4 separate regions of the Homo sapiens genome follow, and regions 1, 3 and 4 are each linked to region 2. The links are contacts of gene promoters, found by promoter capture Hi-C in human tissues and cell types (Jung and others, 2019). All regions are on one chromosome and are shown on one strand. The core of a region is centred on a gene start or on the middle of the fragment in contact, and the rest is flanking DNA. Distances in the headings are between cores, read along the strand shown. Region 1 overlaps RAB11FIP1 (RAB11 family interacting protein 1). Region 2 holds the start of ASH2L (ASH2 like, histone lysine methyltransferase complex subunit). Region 3 holds the start of ADRB3 (adrenoceptor beta 3). Region 4 has its middle 12 kb from the start of RAB11FIP1.

The links. The method cuts DNA at HindIII sites, captures the fragments that hold promoters and counts their contacts. A contact is called where the count stands out against the background at its distance.
Region 1: a contact is called between a fragment that was not itself captured here and the fragment with the promoter of ASH2L in region 2, in 2 of the 25 tissues and cell types used here (aorta and spleen).
Region 3: the fragment with the promoter of ADRB3 here is called in contact with the fragment with the promoter of ASH2L in region 2 in 2 of the 25 tissues and cell types used here (adrenal gland and bladder).
Region 4: a contact is called between a fragment that was not itself captured here and the fragment with the promoter of ASH2L in region 2, in 2 of the 25 tissues and cell types used here (aorta and liver).

The regions. Positions count from the first base shown.
Region 1 is chr8:37,872,715-37,878,241 of GRCh38, forward strand. RAB11FIP1 (RAB11 family interacting protein 1) reads right to left here. Exons shown (of 6, transcript NM_001002814.3): 2 at 4,395-4,837; 3 at 1,801-2,608; 4 at 1-465. Among named protein-coding and RNA genes, the nearest start is that of RAB11FIP1, 24 kb to the right of the region's middle. The HindIII fragment of the contact is 6,711 bases long and covers 1-5,263 here.
Region 2 is chr8:38,101,483-38,106,981 of GRCh38, forward strand. ASH2L (ASH2 like, histone lysine methyltransferase complex subunit) reads left to right here and starts at 4,047. Exons shown (of 16, transcript NM_004674.5): 1 at 4,047-4,256; 2 at 4,896-4,962. The coding sequence starts at 4,069. RefSeq lists silencers at 1,345-1,633, 3,815-3,904, 4,235-4,434 and an enhancer at 4,015-4,144. The HindIII fragment of the contact is 26,659 bases long and covers 1-5,499 here.
Region 3 is chr8:37,962,737-37,967,897 of GRCh38, forward strand. It overlaps ADRB3 (adrenoceptor beta 3), which reads right to left and starts at 3,863. Exons shown (of 2, transcript NM_000025.3): 1 at 2,529-3,863; 2 at 254-1,503. The coding sequence starts at 3,733. The coding sequence ends at 1,482. RefSeq lists an enhancer at 2,862-3,596. The HindIII fragment of the contact is 25,598 bases long and covers 1-5,161 here.
Region 4 is chr8:37,908,639-37,914,012 of GRCh38, forward strand. It overlaps the pseudogene RN7SL709P. Among named protein-coding and RNA genes, the nearest start is that of RAB11FIP1, 12 kb to the left of the region's middle. RefSeq lists an enhancer at 1,741-2,240. The HindIII fragment of the contact is 7,181 bases long and covers 44-5,374 here.

The DNA.
Region 1 (5,527 bases), core at 658-3,157, 230 kb before region 2:
TGCTCTGGGAGAGACTCCTCCAACTCAAGGCTGCTGGTGTTCTTCTCTGTGCCTGTCTCACGGGTCCTGCCCATCAGAGAATCTTCTGTCCCTTTATTTGCTGGAAAGGATGGCTGTTTGAAAAGTGATCCCAGGGCAGAAGAACCAGAATTTGGAACCGGTGTTAAACTCTCAGTTTGCAACTCTGCCTTAGGGAGCAAGGGTGGTCCTTCAGACTTGGCCTGGCCCCTGTCTACGAGAGGCCAGCTTTCAATTGGAGTGGATGTGGAAATGGGAGCTGCTATGGGAGATGAGAGAGAGGAGAAGACAGAAGGACTCTCAGAGGACTGTGTGTCTGCACCATGTCCCAATTCAGAGGGGACAGATGCCTGGCCAGAGCTAGAAGGAAGAGGAGGAAGAGAGGAAGGGGAGTCAGTAGGGGAAGGAAGCCTGGCTGTGGGTTGCGCCTCTGGAGACACTTCCAGTCTGCAAAAAGGACAAAATAAAATCTGCAGGTCAGTGCAGATGCATCACGAGAGACAAAGAAAATACACAAAAACAAGTCATTCACCAGGGGAGAACGTCTTTACACGTGGGGCAGTACCTTAAGAAGTTAAAAAAGGAACGCTAGCCGGGCGCGGTGGCTCACGCCTGTAATCCCAGCACTGTGGGAGGCCGAGGCAGGCGGATCACCTGAAGTCAGGAGTTCAAGACCAGCCCAGCCAACATGGTGAAACCTCATCTCTACTGAAAAATGCAAAAATTAGCCGGGTGTGGTGGTGTGCACCTGTAGTCCCAGCTACTCGGGAGGCTGAGGCAGGAGAACTGCTTGAACCTGGGAGGTGGAGGTTGCAGTGAGTTGAGATCGTGCCACTGCACTCCAGCCTGGGCGATAGAGGGAGACTGTCTCAAAAAAAAAAAGGAACACTAACACTTAACATACACAACAGACACTTTTATAACCAAGCAGATCCGTCACACAAAAGTCTGTTGCAATAGAAATGAAAAGATCCCGGTAAAGCAATAGCCTCTGGTTTCTTGTGGTGATTAACACAAGGCCCGAGCATTTGATTATTACAGGACAAAATGCACCTAAAAGGTTTAAAGTGGTTAAAGATGTAACACAAAGCAACAGGCACAGATAAGTTTAAGAGGAACAGTGTGTATGTGTGTGTATATGTGTGTGTGTGTGTGTGTGCATGTCAAAGTAAGCAGAATCTCTAAAAAAAAAAATCTCACTCCCCAGACCGCAGAAATATTGTCAGTATGAATGTGATCACACAGAAAAGCAGAAGTCCCCAAGGCCAGTCCCCAAGGCTTATGCCGGCTCTTACAACAAGGGGCAGAGTGGACACAAAGAACCGTCACTGTCACTTGAGAGAGGACCGAGGGTCTCTCATACCAGAAACCAATGCCAAAAGGCAAGGAGGCAGGATAACATCTGGCTCAAAGGGAAATGTGAGATAAGAACTTCGAAAACACAGGTTCTGCATACACTACAACCCAAACTCAGTATTCCCAACTTGCAACACCCACAATCTGCTACAAACCACTGCGTTCCACTGAGATCTGATAAGCTGACTGAAAGGACAGACCATGCCTGCTGGGCAGTAGCTCTGAGCTGGGAAACATCACTGCAATTTATACAGGGCAGGCCAGGCTGGCAGTAGGGACTGGTTAAAAAAATAATTTAGACCAGCAAACCTTTGGCATATATGGGTACTATGATATCATGGGACCCACAAGAGCTGGTCTAACGTAAGCCTGAAAACCACCAATGGCAAGGCAGAAATGCCCTGCACGAGAAGAGCCAAAACTCACCGGGGCTTGACAGCTCTGGTCTGGGGAGCCCTCGGAGAGGAAATTGGAGGTCTCGGTTCAGACTTGGACTCTGGCTCAGCTTCTGGTTCTGTGATCTGCACATCTTCAAAGAGGTTCAGGGAGCTGCCCTGTCTGGAGACAACAGCTGCAGTATCTTTCTCAGATCTTCTCACAAGGTCTTCAGCAGGCCCCGATGCGTCCTCCCCCGGCTTAACCCCCATCAGCATGCCTTCCTTCTCCCTCCCTGGGACCGTGAGAGGGTTTTCACCTTCACTGCCCTTAGCCACATCCTTCTTCCCCGTCATCAGAGACAGCAAAGAGGACCTCCTGCTCTCTGGCTTCTTGCTCTCCTTAGCTTCTTTTGTGGCCTCTGAGTTTGCGGGGGCCATGTTTTCCCTGAGGTCCCCACTGACCAGTGGGGCAGGTCGGTAGGACGGCAGGGTCATAGACTTCAAGGAGTCCTTGGTGGAAGATTCGGAGAGCTGCCTGTCAGAAGACAGCCCACCTCCTTCAGCAGGCTCCTTCCAAGACCCAGCCGCCAGGTTCTCTGTAGAAGAGAACAAATGCTTCTTTCTGAAGCCCTTGGGGGATGGGGAGGAGGACGGGCTGCTATCCTTGATCTCACCCTTGGCTTCTGGCTGCTCCAGGTAAACATGGTTCCCATTGATGCAGACATTAGAGCGGGAAAGGACATCATTCTTAGACCGAAGGCCACCAAGAAAGGAAAGTCCTTCCTTCTTGGGAAGGGTAAAGTTGACCTGGTTCAGTTGCTTAAGATCCGTACTCGCTGTTCTCTTGTGAGACATGACTTTGGGAAGAAAAAGAACAGAAAGGGGATAAGATGTTAAACGGGTGGTTTGCAGTGTAGGGGCATCTGTCAACGTCTGGATACATTTCTGGTTGCCACAACTTGGAGGGGGTGTGCTGCTATTCGTATCCAGCAGGTAGAGGACAAGGATGATACTGAACATCTTACAACGTATAGCACAGCCCCCCACGACAAAGGCCTGTCTAGTCTAAACTGTCCACAGTGCTGAGGTTGAGAAACTCTGGGTTAAACCAATGAAAAGGGCAGCACTCTTGGTAGAGTAGCAGAATCCGGCCAATGGGAGGGATTTAGACATTGAAATTGAAGTTCAAAATACATAATTAACTCAGAGCTAAAGGAAGCAGATTCCTTGGCTTCTGATAAGGCTATATCCCACGAGGGTTGAGCACATCACAGGAACTCAATAACTACCTGATGAATTAATGAAATATCAGAATTACCATAAGGTTCCATGGTTTTACCCTTAAAAAAAAGAAAAAAAAAACTTGGAAGACACTCATTCTGTTAGCTCTAAAAGCTTGTACTAGTGGACATCATTTATAGAGCCAGGAACTCTGGAAAAGGAATTTATACATTCTTAGAAACCAGAGGGTATAATCCCAGCACTTTGGGAGGCCAAGGCAGGTGGATCACTTGAGGTCAGGAGTTCAAAACCAGCCTGGTCAACATGGTGAAACCCCAACTCTACTAAAAATACAAAAATTCACCGGGTGTGGTGGCACGGACCTGGAATCCCAGCTATTCGGGAGACTGAGGAAGGAGAATTGCTTAAACCCAGGAGGCGGAAGTTGCAAAGAGCCAAGATCGCACCATTGCACTCCAGCCTGGGTGACAGAGCAAGACTCCATCTCAAAAGAAAAGAAAAGAAAGAAAGGAAGGAAGGAAGGAAGGAAGGAAGGAAGGAAGGAAGGAAGGAAGGAAGAAAGAAGGAAAGAAACCAGAGGGCTTAGAAATAGAGAGGGCATCTCAGCCATGGGCAATGGTTCACACCGGTCATAAGAGCCCTTTGAGAGGCTGAGGCAGGAGGATCACTTGAAGCCAGGAGTTTCAGACCAGCCTGGGCAACATAGTGAGACCTCATCTCTAAAAAAAAAATTTTTTTTAATTAATCAGGTGTGATGATGCACACCTGTAGTCCCAGCTCCTCAGAAGGCCAAGGTGAGAGGATTCCTTGAGCCCAGGAGTTGGAGGCTGCCGTAAGCTATGATCGCGCCACTGCACTCCAGCGTGGGCAATAGAGCAAGACCCTGTCTCTAAAACAAACAAACAAAAAATATTTTAAAAAAAGAAACAGAGAGGGCATTTTTTTTTTTTTGAGACAGAGTCTCACTCTGTCACCCAGGCTGGAGTGCAGTGGCACGATCACAGCTTACTGCAGCCTCTACTTCCTGAGCTCAAGCAATCCTCCCAGCCTAGCCTCCTGAGTAGCTGGGACTACAGGAGTATGTCATCACATCTGGCTAATTTTTATATTTTTTGTAGAGACAGGGTTTCACCATGTTGCCCAGGCTGGTCTCAAACTCCTGGGCTCAAGCAATCTGCCTGCCTCAGCCTCCCAAAGTGCTGGGATTACAGGCGTGAGCCACCACGCCTAGCCTTAGAGAGGGCATCTTAACCACCGCTATCATCATCCCCACCACCATGATTTTGTAATTGAGGAATTGAATTAAACTCTTTCTCTTGAGATTTGTCTGTTTCTTCTCTCTCAGAACGAAGCATGGTAAGAGGAAGAAGAGAGGTCAAGCAGGAAGAGGCAGAAACTCACCATCCGAGGCCGAGGAGGACTCATCCTCATTGTCATCTTCATCCCACTGGGACTGAAAGTCTCCGGGACGAAGCAGCACTTTTTCTGGCTTTGAAGTCGGCAGGACAGACATGGACTGGGAAAGAGGCGTCTTCTGCAAATTTGACTTGGAAAGTAAGGTCTTGATCTTTGATTTCTTTTTCTTGTCTTTAACCACAGACTCATCATCACTGTCGACCGAAGGTGTCGTGCTAGGGATGATGGCGGAGGCGGTGTCTGACCCACTGTCCTTATTCTTCCCCTTGATCTTGTCCTTCAGCTTTCCAAATGGATTCCGAGACTTGTCTTTCATAGAAAGGTCAAACATGCTGGCAGTCATGTTGTTTCTCATAAACTGGATGTCAACCTCAATTTCTCCTCGCTCCTTGTCCTTCTTTCCTGGTTTGGATTTCAACTTATACCACCTGAAAGGAGAAAGGCTGAGGAGTTACCTTTGAATGGAAGCAACTGCAACAATGTTCACAATCCCCATGAACTGGCCTCTCCTCTCTGCTACCAGCAGCCTCTTCAATGCATGCATTCTCATGCTTTCTCTTCGGGAAGTGGTAGATGAGAGCAGAATTTTTTTTTTTTTTTTTTTTTTTTTTTTTGACACAGAGTCTTGCTCTGTCACCCAGGCTGGAGTGCAATGCCACCATCTCGGCTCACTGCAGCCTCTGCCTCCTGGGTTCAAGTGATTCTCCTGCCTCAGCCTCCTGAGTAGCTGAGATTACAGGAGCGCGTGACCATGTCCAGCTAATTTTTGTATTTTTAGTAGAGATGGGGTTTCACCATGGTAGCCAGGCTGGACTCGAACTCCTGACCTCAGATGATCCGCCCGCCTCAGCCTCCCAAAATGTTGGGATTACAGGCGTGAGCCACTGCACCCGGCTGAGAGCAGAATTTGCACTTTTATTTCTTTTGTTTTGTTTTTTATTTTGCACTTTTATTTTTGAGAAGACACGCGCTAGACAAAGATAGGATCCAGTGTTGTGCTTAGCGTATAATCACCTCAAATCCTGATTCAATAAAGAGCTCATTCTAAAAATAAAGAAAAAAAAATATTCCATGGAATCACTTCCGATGAGTGATGTTTTCCTTCAGTAGGGTAAAAA
Region 2 (5,499 bases), core at 2,797-5,296:
GGGCGTGGTGCCACATGCCTGTAATCCCAGCTATTCAGGAGGCTGAGGCAGGAGAATCTCTTGAACACTGGAGGTGGAGGTTGCAGTGAGCTGAGACCGTCACATTGCACTCTAGCCTGGGGAACAAGAGCAAAACTCAGTCTCAAAAAAAAAAAAAAAAAAAAAGTTCTATGTCAGATTATGGTGATCTACCACTAACACCTTTTTTTTTTTCAAGTTTTAATTTTCTGGCCAGGTATGGTGGCTCACGCCTGTAATCCCAGCACTTTGGGGGGCTGAGGTGGGTGGATCACATGGGGGTCAGGAGTATGAGACCAGCCTGGCCAACACGGTAAACCCCGTCTCTACTAAAATAAAAAATTAGCCTGGTGTGGTGGTGGGTACCTGTTATCTCAGTACTTTGGGAGGCCGAGGCAGGTGGATCACCTGAGGTCGGGAGTTCCAGGCCAGCCCTGACCAACATGGAAAAACCCCATCTCTACTAAAAACACAAAATTAGCTGGGCATGGTGGTGCATGCCTGTAATCCCAGCTACTCAGGAGGCTGAGGCAGGAGAATCGCTTGAACCCAGGAGGCGGAGGTTGCAGTCAGCCAAGATCACGCCATTGCACTCCACCCTGGGCAACAAGAGCAAAACTCTGTCTCAAAAAAAAAAAAAAATTTATAGAGACAGGGTCTTGCTTTGCTGCCTAGGCTGGTCTTGAACTCCTAGCTTCAAGCAATCTTCCTGCCTCCTGCCTTGGCCTCCCAAAGTGCTGGGATTACAGGCATGAGCCACTGCACCCAGCCAACATATTTTCTAGAATGTCTTTCAACTTGGATTCATCTGATGCTTTCTCTTGATTAGACTTGGATTATGGATTTTGGGGAATACCAAAGAGATGAAGTTGCCATCTCATTGTATATCGGGGGGTATATTTATAATTTTTTTTTTTTTGAGACGGAGTCTCGCTCTGTCCCCCAGGGTGGAGTGCAGTGGTGCGATCTCAGCTCACTGCAAGCTCCACCTCCTGGGTTCACGCCATTCTCCTGCCTCAGCCTCCCAAGTAGCTGGGACTACAGGCGCCCGCCACCACGCCCGCTTAATTTTTTGTATTTTTAGTAGAGACGGGGTTTTGCCTTGTTAGCCAGGATGGTCTCGATCTCCTGACCTCGTGATCCACCTGCCTCGGCCTCCCAAAGTGCGGGGATTACAGGCGTAGGCCACTGCGCCCGGCCTATAATTTTTAACTGGTTATATTAACCTGACCACTTGGGTAAGGTGGTGTGTTCGCCCATTTCTGCACCGTAAAAACTACTATTTTCTACCAAGAGGAAAAAGAAAATAAATAAAAAATAAAAATTACTATTTTTTTCTTTTTTTTTTTTTTTTTGAGACGTAGTTTCACTCTTGTTGCCCAGGCTGGAGTGTAATGGCGCGATCTCGGCTCACTGTAACCTCGCCTCCCGGGTTCAAGTGATTCTCCTGCCCCAGCCTCCTGAGTAGCTGGGATTACAGGCATGCGCCACCACGCCTGGCTAATTTTGTAGTTTTAGTAGACACGGGGTTTCTCCATGTTGGTCAGGCTGGTCTCGAACTCCTGACCTCAGGTGATCCGCCCGCCTCGGCCTCCCAAAGTGCTGGGATTACAGGCATGAGCCACCGCGTCTGGCCATGTTATTTTCTTTTTCTACATTCTATTAGTTAGAAGCAAGTCACTGAGTCCAGCCCACACAATCAAGGGGAGGGGGGTATTAAAGAATTTGTGTGGAGGCATGATGGCTCACTCCTGTAATCCCAGCACGCTGGAAAGCCCAGGCAAGAGGATCGCTTGAGCTCGGGAGTTGGAGACTAGTCTGAGCAACATGATGAGACCCTGTCTCTACTAAAAATTAAGAAAATTAGCTGGGCGTGCCGGGAGCAGTGGCTCACGCCTGTAATCCCAGCACTTTGGGAGGCCGAGGCAGCGGATCACAAGGTCAGGAGATTGAGACCATCCTGGCTAAAAAACGGCAAAAACCCTGTCTCTATTAAAAATACAAAAAATTAGCTGGGCGCGGTGGCGGGCGCCTGTAGTCCCAGCTACTCGGGAGGCTGAGGCAGGAGAATGGTGTGAACCCGGGAGGTGGAGCTTGCAGTGAGCGGAGATTGCACCACTGCACTCCAGCCTGGGCGACAGAGCAACACTCCGTCTCAAAAAGAAAAAAAAAAAAAAGAATATTAGCTGGGCGTGGTGGCTCGTGCCTATAGTCCCTGCTACTCAGGAGGCTAAGGCAGGAGGATTGCTTTACCCGGGGAACTTGAGGCGGCAGTGAGGTATGATGCCGCCACTGCTGCACTCCAGCCTGAGCGACAGTGCGAGACTCTGTCTCAGAAAAAAAAAAAAAAAACACACAGGTGAAACCCCGTCTCTACTAAAGATACAAAAATTAGCCAGGCGTCATGGCGCGTGCCTGTAATCCCAGCAACTCGGGAGGCTGAGGCAAGAGAATCGCTTGAACCCGAAACCGCGAGGTGGAGGTTGCAGTGAGCTGAGATCGCGCTACTGCACTCAGCCTGGGCGACAAACCGAGACTCCGTTTCAAAAAAAAAAAAAAAAAGCCGTGCGCGGTGGCTCACACCTGTAATCCCAGCACTTTGGGAGGCCCAGGTGGGTGGATCACTTGAGGTCAGGAGATCGACACCAGCCTGGCCAACATGGTGAAACCCCGCCTCTACTAACAAAAATTAGCCGGGCGTGGTGACAGATACCTGTAATCTCAGCTACTCGGGAGGCTGAGGTAGGAGAATCGCTTGAACCTGGGGTGGAGGTTGCAGTGAGCCGTGATCGGGCCACTGCGCTCCAGCCTGGGCGACAGAGCGAGACTCTGTCTCAAACAAACAACAACAAGAAAACACAAAATTCTGCGACCATATGTTAAAACTGCTACAATACTACGTATTTGGGAGGAGATACTTAGATCAAGCATCCTGCTTCTCTTTGGAGTACCAACCCCTGATTTAAGTATTTATCATCAATTTTAAAAATGTAACCTGGCAACTCAGTTAGGTCTTTCTTCAATTTTGTTGAAAACCAATAATTGAGAACCAATTGGGAAATCAATATCTACGTATTTCCCATGGCGTCCAGTGGCCCAGAGATTCCTACACTATCGGTGGACACATCACAGTAAGATTAGACTGAGGATTGGCGAGGGGTGCGCCGTTCTTGTGTAAAGCGGGAGAAGAGTGTATTATCGTTAGGCAACATTTTAGGATATAGGATAAACACTGGTGTCCTGAAAACGTTCCTGGCCGCAACACTCTCAGAGGTTTGCATTCTCGAGTTTGGAGACCATGGCTCTGAAAGACTCAACTCACTCCACTGATGCCAGCCACCAGCTACTGTTGATGACTTCCCAAGTTCGTACTTTCAGTCCACACCTCTTCCTTTCGCTGGGCACCAAACTTGTCTACATTCCGAGTGCCCCGGCACACCCCGGGGCTTCGCTTTCCGCCTCTCACAGTAGGAAGCGGCGAGCCGCTTCTAGTGCCCACGCCGCTCCTCGGCTGCCCGGCCTGGGTTTTCCACCCTCGCCCCTGGAATCGGCCTCCCTAGATTCCCTTCCCTCTTAAAATCATTTGGAAACGGGCTCCAAGGGGCGACCCTGCGCAGAAAACCAAATTCCATCCGGGGCGGGCAGGGAGTGCTAGACTCCAAGGAAGACGTTTCCCACATTCGGTGGTGAGGAGTGTTTGGCGGCACGGCACGGCCAGCGCTCTCAAGGACCCTCTTCTGCGCAGAATATCCAGTCGTAGCCACGAAAATACGCCGCGTCAGTCCCTGACTCGAAAGGAAGTCCTCCAGAGAGCCGCACTAACCATCTAGCTTCCTCCACCTTCAGCCTGCCAGGCCCGCGGCCACCGCCGGCGCGGGAGGCCGGCCCACCTCTGCCCGCGCGCCTGGCCTTAAAGCGGTCGTGGAATTATGCTTCCTCAGGCAGGCGGTGGACGCACCGCGGGCTTTTTCTGTTTGAAGACTACAGCGTCACACAGCAACGCGCGCGAGAGAAGAGAGTATTCTCGCGAGAAGTCCAGGGGTGGCCGTGATGGCGGCGGCAGGAGCAGGACCTGGCCAGGAAGCGGGTGCCGGGCCTGGCCCAGGAGCGGTCGCAAATGCAACAGGGGCAGAAGAGGGGGAGATGAAGCCGGTGGCAGCGGGAGCAGCCGCTCCTCCTGGAGAGGGGATCTCTGCTGCTCCGACAGTTGAGCCCAGTTCCGGGGAGGCTGAAGGCGGGTAAGAGGTCCTGCCGCCCGAGGAAGACGCGGGAGGGAGGCCCGCCCCTCGCGAATCCCGCGGCTCCTGGAGCCCTGCCGCCCGCCCCCTGCGAACCCAGGCCCCGCCGCCAATGGCTCGCCCTGCCTCTGCGCCGCTTGGCCCGTCCCCTCTCAAGCATATCTCGGATAACGCCCCTTCCGCACCTTTCACGGGCGGTGGGAGCTGAGGCTCCTGTCGTTATCTCTGATCCTTGCACCCTGGCAGGAAGCTGGTAGCTCACACTTTAACGGGAGGCCTTCACATATTCCAGAAAAGAAACCACTTTGCAGTGCCAGACTGGAAGAAGTAACGGTCACTCTGAAAACAGGGTGGGAGAGCTGCCTCTCTTTGAACCTCTCCCAGGACCAACTCTAACCCAGGTAGATTTGACTGTAAAGGCCGGTTAGGCTTCCCTGTGCTCCGTGGGTCCGCGACTGTCTGACATGTCCACCTTCTCAGTATCCTGACAGTACCTTGGGCATCCAGTCTGAGATCAGGCTTAGCTGAAAAAGCTGCAGGAGTATGAAGTTCGGCTGTAATTTGATCATCATTTTTGGGAATAGGCATTTTGAGGTTTGTCTTGAGAATTCTTACTTGAGCGCTTTCATTATCTTATAGGGAGGCAAACTTGGTCGATGTAAGCGGTGGCTTGGAGACAGAATCATCTAATGGAAAAGATACACTAGTAAGTATTTTTAGTTGTTTGCAAGACAAAATAGGGTTTGTTTTAGTTATTTCTTCTTCTTCTTTTTTTTTTTTTTTTGTTGCGACGGAGCCTTGCTCTGTCGCCCAGGCTGGAATGCAGTGGCGCGATCTCGGCTCACTGCAACCTCCTCCCCCCGGGTTCCAGCGATTCTCCTGCCTCAGCCTCCCGAGTATCTGGGATTACAGGCATCTGCCAACACACCTGGCTTCTTTTTTTTGTCTTTTTAGTAGAGACGGGGTTTCACCATGTTGGCCAGGCTGGTCTCGAACTCCTAACCTCAGTTGATTCTCCCGCCTCAGCCTCCCAGAGTGTTGGGATTACAGGCGTGAGCCACCGCGCCCGGCCTTGTTTTTACATTTTTAAGCGAATCAAAAATACATTCAGGCCAGGCACGGTGGCTCATGCCTGTAATCCCAGCACTTTGGGAGGCTGAGACCTCAGGATCACTTGAGACCAGCCTGGGCAACATAGGGAGACCCCCGTCTCTTAAAAAAATAAAATAAAGTAAAATACATT
Region 3 (5,161 bases), core at 2,613-5,112, 140 kb before region 2:
GGGGCAGATGGAATTTTATAACTCTAGGGCCCCTGAACCAAGACAACACATTGCGCACTACATCACAAACACGCAAAACATCTGTGATTTACCGGGCATTCCATAAATCATCCTGGACAATAGTCTTGGCTCATAGAGTTTAAATAGAAACTCACAAAATGATCTAATGATTTCCTTAGAAATTTTCTTTACATAGGAAACCTGGCTGATAAGATTCATAAAATGGAAATAAGAGAAAACTGCATCAACAGGCTCAAATTTGTAACTCCAGTTTTACTTTAAGAGGATAATACAGATTTTTGTAGCTGGGGAAGGTGAGTGGGAAGGTAGAGGTTGTGGAAAGGCTGGGAAACATCAGAATATATTTATGACACAAGACATTTGACCAACCCAAGCAATGCTTTGTGCCTGTGCCTCCAGACACACACACACACACACACACGCACACACACACACACACACCATGTAAGGCACCACTGGATTATAGCATGGAGGGGACAAATGCCCCCTGCCCTAAACCTGGCCACAGCCAGCCCATCCCCCTGTGGGCCCTCTGTCCAAGTCCTGTGGGGAGCGTGGCTTTGCTACTCAATGGCAACTGGATTTCAAGAGTTTCAGGAAGGGTGGGGGAGCAAGATATCAAAGGCTCAAGCTCACTCCCCTTCGTCCAGACAGACTTTTCATTTTTTGTTTGATGAAGATTAGGAAGAAAAGAGTGAGGATTAGGCCTAATTTACTGCCTCTGTCAAAAGCCAGCGCAGAGTAGAAGGGAAGGGAGTAAGTGGATTATGAAAAGAAAACAAACGGAGGGAAAGGGGGCCGAGGATGAACTGCATTCAGTGATATTTATTTATCTGATTGCAAAAGGAAAAGAAGGGATCTGTTCTAATGGTTCACCTTCTTATGAACCCTGGAGCTCCCAAAACCCTGGCGAAGTCCTTCTGACACTGCTGTGAGGTAGATCGGAGCCATTCCATGGCTAAAGTGAGAGAGGCCACTGCTTGAGAGCAGTAATAAGGGAACCAGAGATAAAACCCCAAATCTTGGTCTTTTCTACCCTGCTGCTCTCAGCCTGGGCCACAGAGCCTGGAGAACACTAAGGTCTCATCAGGGTTTGGGTGGCAGAAGGAATGGAACCAGGGGAGCTCTCTTTGCCCTAAGCACTCACTGACTGCACAGGCAAGCCGGGTGATGGGTGCCCCTACCAAAGCCAGCCTGCTGCTCCACGGCACCTGGACACTACCACTGAGGGAGGAGTGAAGTTCAAGGCTGGGGTTTAGAAAACATCTCTCAGACAGAGAGCAAGAGGATGGTGAAAACCCACTTGGTAAGGATCCCTCCTTGGGTCACATGGCCCAGTCGTCAGGTTCTGGAGGGTAGAGTGTCACAGCCGGGGAATCCCATGGGACTCATTCTGAACAGAGGCCAGAGGTTTTCCACAGGTTCTGATCAACAGAGTTGTTGCTTCTTGTCCTTCAGGCCTAAGAAACTCCCCAAGAAGCCCTGGGAAAAAAAGTGGAGATAATAGACCCTGGGGTGAAAGGAGCAACAGGTGCACTGAGGGGAATGACAGAGATCAGAGACCCTGGAACGCATATTTAGTTACACAAAAACGCCAGGGCACCACCCAGCCACACACGCCCCACCCCATCCCTACTCCAACCCAGCCCAGGGAGCGGGAGGGCACACATCTGCACTCACAGGCTCCTCACTCACAACTGTACTTCATACCGGAAGTGGATTCTCACCTCCACAGCTGTCAAACCTTTGAGAAAACCCAGAACTGAGGCCGAGGGCTTGGGGGGCGGGTGGGGGGGCACTAGCCCTGCCTTCAAGTCCGAGCCAGGTCTAGTGATGGCAAGAAATCGGGGGAGGGGGGCAAAGAACTGAGCTGGAAAACCAAAACTAGAGCCGACCCGGCGCCCTGGCTCCGGCCTGTAATCCTAATGCTTTGGAAGGCTGAGGCAGAAGGATCACTTGAGGCCAGAAGTTCAAGACAAGCCTGGGCAACATAGCAAGACCCCATCTCTACAAGAAATTTTAAAAATAGCTGGGATTGGTGGGGCTCGCCTGTAGTCCCAGATACTCAGGAGGCTGAGGTGGGAGGATCGCTTGAGCCCAGGAGCCAGGAGTTCAAGACTGCAGTGAGCTGAGATCGCGCCACTGCATTCCCGCGTGGGCGACAGAGACGAAACCCTGTCTCTATTTAAAAAAAAAAAAAATCCCTAAAGCCGACCAGGCGAGGCGAGAGTCCTCGGGACACCGCAGCGCTTTCCGGTGGCGCACCTTGGGTCCTTGGGTGAGGAACGACGGCCCGCTCGCCCTCCTTTGCTTCTACCCTAGTGACTGGATCCGGAAAGAAAAGGACCCTGGGTCCCATTTTGGTTCGCTACTCCTCGTTCCCTTTTCTCTCCAAGCAAAGCCATCCCACCTTCTCTTAATAAACTCCACACTCAAAAAGTTGACCCACGGACACATCGCATGCTTCCCGACCCTGAGCCGCCGGTCCCTCTGCCCCGGTTACCTACCCGTCGAGCCGTTGGCAAAGCCTGGGCTGCGCTGGGCTGCTCCGGGCCGCAGGAACGCCCGAGGGGAAGAGGGCCGGGCGGGCGGCGGCGCAGGGCTCCGGAGGCAGGCGACGGCCGCAGCGGCACAGAAGACGGCGGAAGGCGCTGCGAAAGTCCGGGCTGCGGCAGTAGATGAGCGGGTTGAAGGCAGAATTGGCATAACCTAGCCAGTTCAGGGCAAGGAAAGCCGGGCCCGGGACTAGAGAGGGGCCCCCCAGGGCGCGCAGCACGTTGGCCAGAAAGAAGGGCAACCAGCAGAGAGTGAAGGTGCCCATGATGAGACCCAAGGTGCACAGGGCCCGGTGTTCCCGGAGAGGCAGGAGGCGCGCGGGCCGCCGGCCGCAGGCGGGCACCCCTTCGGGCGGAGCGCACGTCCCCACCGGGGCCGGGGCCAGAGAGCGCGACGGCGCCGGCGGAGACTCCTCGGGCGGAAAGCGGCCCAGCTCCCCGCGCAGCAAGCGCAGCTGGCGCGTAGCCACCACGAAAACCCGCGCGTAGACGAAGAGCATCACGAGAAGAGGAAGGTAGAAGGAGACGGAGGAGGACAGCAGCACGTAGGGCATGTTGGAGGCGAAGGCACAGCAGCGCGGGTTGGAGTGGCAGCGCTGCGCCTCGGCGTCGGCCCCTACGCGCCACCACTGGCTCATGATGGGCGCAAACGACACCGCGGCCGACACGACCCACACCAGGACCACAGCTGTCCGGGCGCAGCGCTTGGTGACCAGTGCGCCGTAACGCAGCGGGTTGGTCACAGCCAGGTAGCGGTCCACGGCCAGGGCGCACAGGGTTTCGATGCTGGCGGTCACACACAGCACGTCCACCGAGGTCCACAGCTCGCAGCCAGTGGCGCCCAACGGCCAGTGGCCAGTCAGCGCCAAGGTGGCCGCCGGCGGCACCACCAGGAGTCCCATCACCAGGTCGGCTGCGGCCAGCGAAGTCACGAACACGTTGGTCATGGTCTGGAGTCTCGGAGTCCAGGCGATGGCCACGATGACCAGCAGGTTGCCTCCCACGGTGGCCAGCACCGCCAGCGCCAGCAGGGCCCCGGCTAGGGCCGCCTCCCACGGAACCCCTGGCAGCCCACTGGTGTTGGCGGTATTGGGCGCCAGGGTGGGGAGGTCCGGCCATGGGGCAAGAGAGCTGTTCTCGTGAGGCCACGGAGCCATCCCCGGGTCGCGCGTGGGGCGGTAGGGAAAGAAGGAAGGAGGGGGTCTCCCAAATCACCTGGCTCAGGGGAGGGGACAGCAAGGCATGAGAGCGACTTCCCCAGCCTGGGCCATCTTCTCTAGCTGTCCCAGCCAGAGCGCTCAGCCTCCCCCCACCCCAACTCCCTCGGTGCCACCGCTCTTGGGGGAGGAGTAGCGACGCTTAAAGGGGCAGCTGCCTATAGTCTGGAGGGGCCTCTGGAGCCGAATTGGAGAGTGGGGAGGATGGCCAATGGGATGCTCCACGTTTCCTTTAGCTAAATCTGGAGGAAGGGACACCGTGGTTCCTCTGCCACCATCTGTCCACCCCTGCCGTGGCCAGGCTCCTGGACTCAGCATAGCACTCCCTGGGCACTGGCTTCCTGGAGCCCTGCACCTCCTTTCCCAGAAGTTCCCACAGCAAGGCAGGGGAAGGAGAGAGGAGAGCGCTCCCATCCCCACCCTTTATGTATCAGAGGCAAAGGTAACCCGCTGGAGTCAAGCAAAGGATTCACAGGAGCCCCGCATCCACTTGGGTGGCCTCCCCTAAGGTATTTTAAATTAAGTAATAGGGCTCAGCCAGTATCTCCTCTCCCAAGACCTCAGCTTGGTGAGATCTGTCCCCTTTCCCTTCTGTTTCAGTTACCTTCTCTTTCCTTCTAGCTTTTTGTTTTTTTTAATATTTTCAGGTACTGAGGAAATTTACCATATTTCAAGTCTCTCTCTCTCTCTATTTTTCCCAGGCTGGCTTTGAACTCCCGGGCTCAAGCCACCCTCCTGTCCCAGCCTCCTGAGTAGTTGGAATTGCAGGCGTGAACCACTAGGAGGCTCAGGAGTCTTTTTCTTTTTCTTTTCTTTTTTTTTTTTTTTTTGAGACGGCGTCTCGCTCTGTCACCCAGGCTGGAGGCTGGAGTGCAATGATGTGATGTCTGCTCACTGCAATCTCCACCTCCCGGGTTCAAGCGCTTCTCCTGCCTCAGCCTCCCAAGTAGCTGGGACTGCAGGCACCCGCCAGCATGCCCAACTAATTTTTATATTTTTAGTAGAGACGGGGTTTCACCATGTTGGCCAGGATGGTCTCGATCTCCTGACCTCGTGATCCGCCCGCCTCGGCCTCCCAAAGTGCTGGGATTACAGGCGTGAGCCATCGCGCCCGGCCAGGAGTCTTTTTCATTGCTAGCTCTGGATTTGCATTTGGATTTGGCACTATGTAGTCTGGGATGCTGAAGAATTTCAATTTCTCCATCTTCCCCACTCTGCACTGCCCCTTCCATGCACCTTTCCACCTAGAGATTTTCTAGATAGCCCCTTCTCTTAAAATCTTTCTGCTATAAAGACATATTAAAAATGGATGAATCAACAGGTGGGCGCGGTGGCTCACGCCTGTAATCCCAGCACTTTGGGAGGTCG
Region 4 (5,374 bases), core at 2,384-4,883, 190 kb before region 2:
CTGGGGCCTGCAGTGGACTGAAGGATGGCTCTCCAGAAGATATGTCCATGTCTTAATCCTCAGACATGTGAATGCTACCTTGTTTAGAAATAAGGGTCTCATGGGGCATGGTGGTATGCACCTGTAGTCCCAGCTACTCAGGAGTCTAAGGCTGGAAGATTGCTTGAGCCCAGGAGTTCTGGGCTGTAGGGCACTAGGTTGATTTGGTGTCTGCACTAAGTTCAGCATCAATACGGTGAGCTCCTGGGAGCATGGGACCACCAGGTTGCCTAAGGAGGGATGAACCATCCCAGGTTGGAAACGGAGCAGGTCAAAACTCCTGTGCTGATCAGTAGTGGGATCACACCTGTGAACAGCCACTGCACTCCAGCCTGGGAAACATAGCGAGACCCTATCTCTAAAATAAATAAATTTTATATATATATATATATATATATATATATATATATATATAAAAACAAGAGTCTTCGCCAATGTAATTAAATTAAGGCCCTTGATATGACACGATCATCTCGGATTATCCAGAAGGACCCTCACTCCAGTGACAAGTGTCCTAACAGAACAAGGCAGAGCGAGACTACACAAACAGGAGGAGAAAGACCTGAGAAGGAGGAGGCAGAGATGAGACTGATGCATCCACAAACCAAGGAATGCCCAAGGCCACCAGAAGCCAGAGGACACGAGTGACAACACCTCCCTAGAGCCTCTGGACAGAGTTCAACCCTGCTGACACCTTCATTCTGGACTTTCAACCTCCAGAGCTGACAGTGAGAGAATAAATATCTGTTGCCTTTTTTTTTTTTTTTTTTTTTCAGATGGAGTCTCTCTTTGTCACCCAGGCTGCAGTGCAATGGCACAATCTCAGCTCACTACAATCTCCGTCTCCCAGGTTCAAGCAATTCTCCTGCCTCAGCCTCCCAAGTAGGTGGGATTACAGGTGCCCGCCACCATGCCTAGCTGATTTTTGTATTTTTAGTAGAGACAGGGGTTTCACCATGTTGGCCAGGTTGGTCTTGAACTCCTGACTTCAGGTGATCTTCCTGCCTTGGCCTCCCAAAGTCCTGGGATTACAGGTGTGAGCCACTGCGCCCGGCCATCTGTTGTCTTAAGCCACCAAGTTAGTGGTAATTTGTGACAGCAGCCACAGGAAGCGAATACAGGGGTATGGGGAATGAAATCGCTCTAAATTCTCCTCTGTCTTTCAGTGCATAGACATAAGTGTGCACCCACACCCAAGAATGGAATTGCTGGATCACAGGGTGGGTGTATGTTCAGCACTAAGAGATATTGCTAAACAATTTTCTAAAGAGGTTATAGCAATTTATACTCCCACCAATGTTTGAGATCCAGTTTCTCCACATGGTTGTCAGCCTCAGTGCTATGGTTTGAATATTTGACCCCTCCAAACCTCATGTTGAAATGTGATCCCCAGTGTCAGAGGTGGGACCTAATAGGAGGTGTTTGGGTCATGGGGGCGGATCCCTCAAGACTTCATGACAGCTTGGTGCAGTCTTGGAAGTAGTGAGTAAGTTCTCGTTCTGTAAGTTCCTGTGAGGGCTGATTGCGTTTTTTTTCGTTTCGTTTGTTGTTTGTTTGTTTTTCTTCGAGACGGAGTCTTGCTCTGTCACCCAGGCTGGAGTGCAGTGGCACCATCTCGGCTCACTGCAACCTCCGCCTCCCAGGTTCAAGCAATTCTCCTGCCTCAGCCTCCCAAGTAGCTGGGATTACAGGCTCCTGCCACCATGCACAGCTAATTTTTGTATTTTTAGTAGAGACGGGGTTTCGCCATGTTGGCCAGGCTGGTCTTGAGCTGCTGGCCTCAAGTGACCCACCCGCCTCCGCCTCCCAGAGTGCTGGGATTACAGGCATGAGCCACCGCGTCCAGCCTGGGCTGGTTATTAAAAAAAACAGACTGCTACCTCCCCTCTCTCTCTTGCTTTCTCTCTCACCCTATGGTCTCTGCACACGCAGGCTTCCGTTTGCCTTCTGCCATGAGTGGAAGCAGGTTGAGGCCCCCATCAGAAGTAGATGTTGGTGCCATGCTTCTTGTATGGCCAGAAGAACCAGCAGCCAAATGAACCTCTTTTCTTTATAAATTACCCAGCCTTGGGTATTCCTTATAGTAACACAAGCAGATGAAGACATTTAGTATTGTCTTTTGCATTTCACCCTTCTGGCGGCTGTGCAATAGTTTTAATTTTTATTTCCCTGGTGACTAATGAGGCTGTATGCTTTTTCTTAAGCTTTTTCACCATTTGGATATGGTTTTCTCGTGATGGGCCTACTCATATCTTTGGCCCATTTTTCTTCTGTCTTTGTATTGATTTGTAGATGTCATTACAAAGATAGAGATATCAAGTCTATAATGTAATGCAAGTATCCTCTCCCACTCTGTGGCATGCCTTTTCACTCTCTTAGTGGTGTTTCTTGATGAAAAGCAGTCTTAATTTTAATGACACCCAAATGATCAATCTTTTCTTTTATGGTTAGTGCTTTAAGTCCTTTCTAAGAAATCATTGCTGTCTCAAAGTCATGAATATATTCTCCTTTATTGTCTTATAAAAGCATTTTGGTTTGCCTTCCACCTTTATATTAGCAATCCACCTAATTTTTTGTATTATTCAAAGTTAATTTTTTTGAGACAGGGTCTTGCTCTGTCACCCAGGCTGCATGATCATGGCTCACAGCAGCCTCAACCTCCCAGGCTCAAGTGAGCCTCCTACCTCCGCCTCCCAAGTGTTAGTAGCTGGGACTATAGGCATGAGCCACAATGCTTGGCTAATTTTTGTAGTTTTTGTAGGTGTAGGGTTTCTCCACATTGCCCAGGTTAGTCTCAAACTCTTGAGCTCCAGTTATCCACCTGCCTCGGCCTCCCAAAGTTCTGGGATTACAGTGTGAGCCACTGTGCCTGGCCAAAAGTTAATTTAATTTTATTTTTTTTGAGATGGAGTCTTGCTCTGTCACCCAGGTTAGAGTGCAGTGGCTCCATCTCGCCTCACTGCAACCTCTGCCTCCTGGGTTCAAGCAATTCTCCTGTCTCAGCCTCCCGAGTAGCTGGGATTACAGGCATGAGCCACCACGCCTGGCTAATTTTTGTATTTTTAGTAGAGATGGGGTTTCGCCATGTTGGCCAGGCTGGTCTCGAACTCCTGACCTCAGGTGATCCACCCCCCTCGGCTTCCCAAAGTGCTGGGATTACAGGCGTGAGCTACTGCGCCCAACCCAAAAATTAATTTTTTAAAAAACATAAAATTATGAACTTTCATACAGACATAAAAATAAACATGTTAAAATTTTATTACACTTATTATTAAGAAAAACTAGTAAGGTGTTACAACCAGTTCAAAGGTGAATCCAAAGAATAGACGCATTTAGAGACCAGAAATATTGAAATGAATATGCAAATGGAGGCAAAGCTTGTTTTTCTGGAGGAGGGGGCAGGGAGTGTCCCTCCACTAGACAATTTGCTTTTATGAATTTTGCATTGCTTTCAATTGTCTACCAGACACAGAGCTGTAAAATAGCTATCATAGAATCAAAATCAGATAATCCAGAGAATGTACTATAGATAATGCAATTTTCCACTGAAGCACAAAATTTTCCCTACCATATAGTATCTGTTGGGATCAAGATTCATTTTTCCCCATATGAATACTGAAGGAACCCAAAAGATTTCACTCCGAAATATACTTTGACATTTAAAAAAAATTTTTTGAGACAGGGTTTCACTCTGTCACCCAGGCTGGAGTGTAGTGGCACCATCACTCACTGCAACCTCCGCCTCCCAGGTTCAAGTGATTCTCCCGCCTCAACCTCCTGAGTAGTTGGGAGTACAGGCGTGCACCACCACACCTGGCTAATTATCATTATCATTTTTTTTTTTTTTTGAGATGGAGTCTCGCTTTTTTTGTCGTTGCCCATGCTGGAGTGCAGTGGCACAATCTTGGCTCACTGCAACCTCCGCCTCCTGGGTTCAAGCGATTCTCCTGCCTCAGCCTCCCAAGTAGCTGGGATTACAGGCATGAGCCACCACACCTGGCTAATTTTTGTATTTTTAGTAGAGATGGGGTTTCACCATATTGGCCAGGCTGGTCTTGAATACCTGACCTCAGGTGATCCGCCAATCTCGGCCACCCAAAGTGCTGGGATTACAGGCATGAGCCACTGCGCCAGGCCTAATTTTTGTATTTTTAGTAGAGACAGAGTGTCACCATGGTGGCCAGGCTAGTCTCGAACTCCTGGCCTCAAGTGATCCACCTGCCTTGGTCTCCCCAACTGTTGGGATTACAGGCATAAGCCACCGGGCCCGCCTTAAATTTTTTCTGAGACAGCATCTCTCTCTGTCCCCCAGGCTGGAGGGCAGAGATGCGATCACAGCTCACTATGGGCTCCAGCAATCTTCCCACCTCAGCCTCCCAAAATATTGGAGTTACAAGCATGAGCTACCACATCCGGCCTAGTCTGACATATTTTGAGATGGTTGTTCAGAGGACCTGTGGACAGAAGGAGTCCTACCAAGCTGTCTTTTTCTTTTTTTTTTTGAGATGGAATTTCACTCTGTTGCCCGGGCTGGAGTGCAGGGACACCATCTAGGCTCACTGCAACCTCCCCCTCCTAGATTCAAGCAATTCTCCCTGCCTCAGCATCCTGACTGGCTGAGATTATGGTGCCCTCCGCCACACCTGGCTAATTTTTGTATTTTTAGTAGAGATGAAGTTTCACCATGTTGGTCAGGTTGGTCTTGAACTCTTTTTTTTTTTTTTTTTTTGAGACAGTTTCACTCTTGTTGCCTAGGCTGGAGTGCAATGGCGCAATCTCGGTTCACCGCAACCTCCACCTCCTGGGTTTTCAAGCAATTTTCCTGCCTCAGCCTCCCGAGTAGCTGGGATTACAGGCATGTGCTACCACACCCAGCTAATTTTGTATTTTTAGTAGAGACAGAGTTTCTCCATGTTGGTCAGGCTGGTCTCGAACTCCCGACCTCAGGTGATCTGCCTGCCTCAGCCTCCCAAAGTGCTGGGATTACAGGCGTGAGCCACCGCGCCCGGCCTTGGTCTCGAACTCTTAACCTCAAGTGATCTGCCTGCCTAGACCTCCCAAAGTACTGGGATTACAGGGATGAGCCACCGCGCCCAACCCCAAGCTGTCTTTTGTCGGGGAGATTTGCATCTGTTGAGAATCTGCGTGATGCAGCCAGGCTTTCTCTGAGATCCTCCCTTGCCTGGATCCAGGAAAGATGAACTGAGAGTCTGACACCATTAAAGGTCTGAAAGAAACATTTACCACCTATTCTCTCTGAAGGCTCCAACCTGTGAGATCCCCTCCATATAACAAGACACCTTTGCTAGCCAGTCCTCTCTTCTCTCCCTCCCAT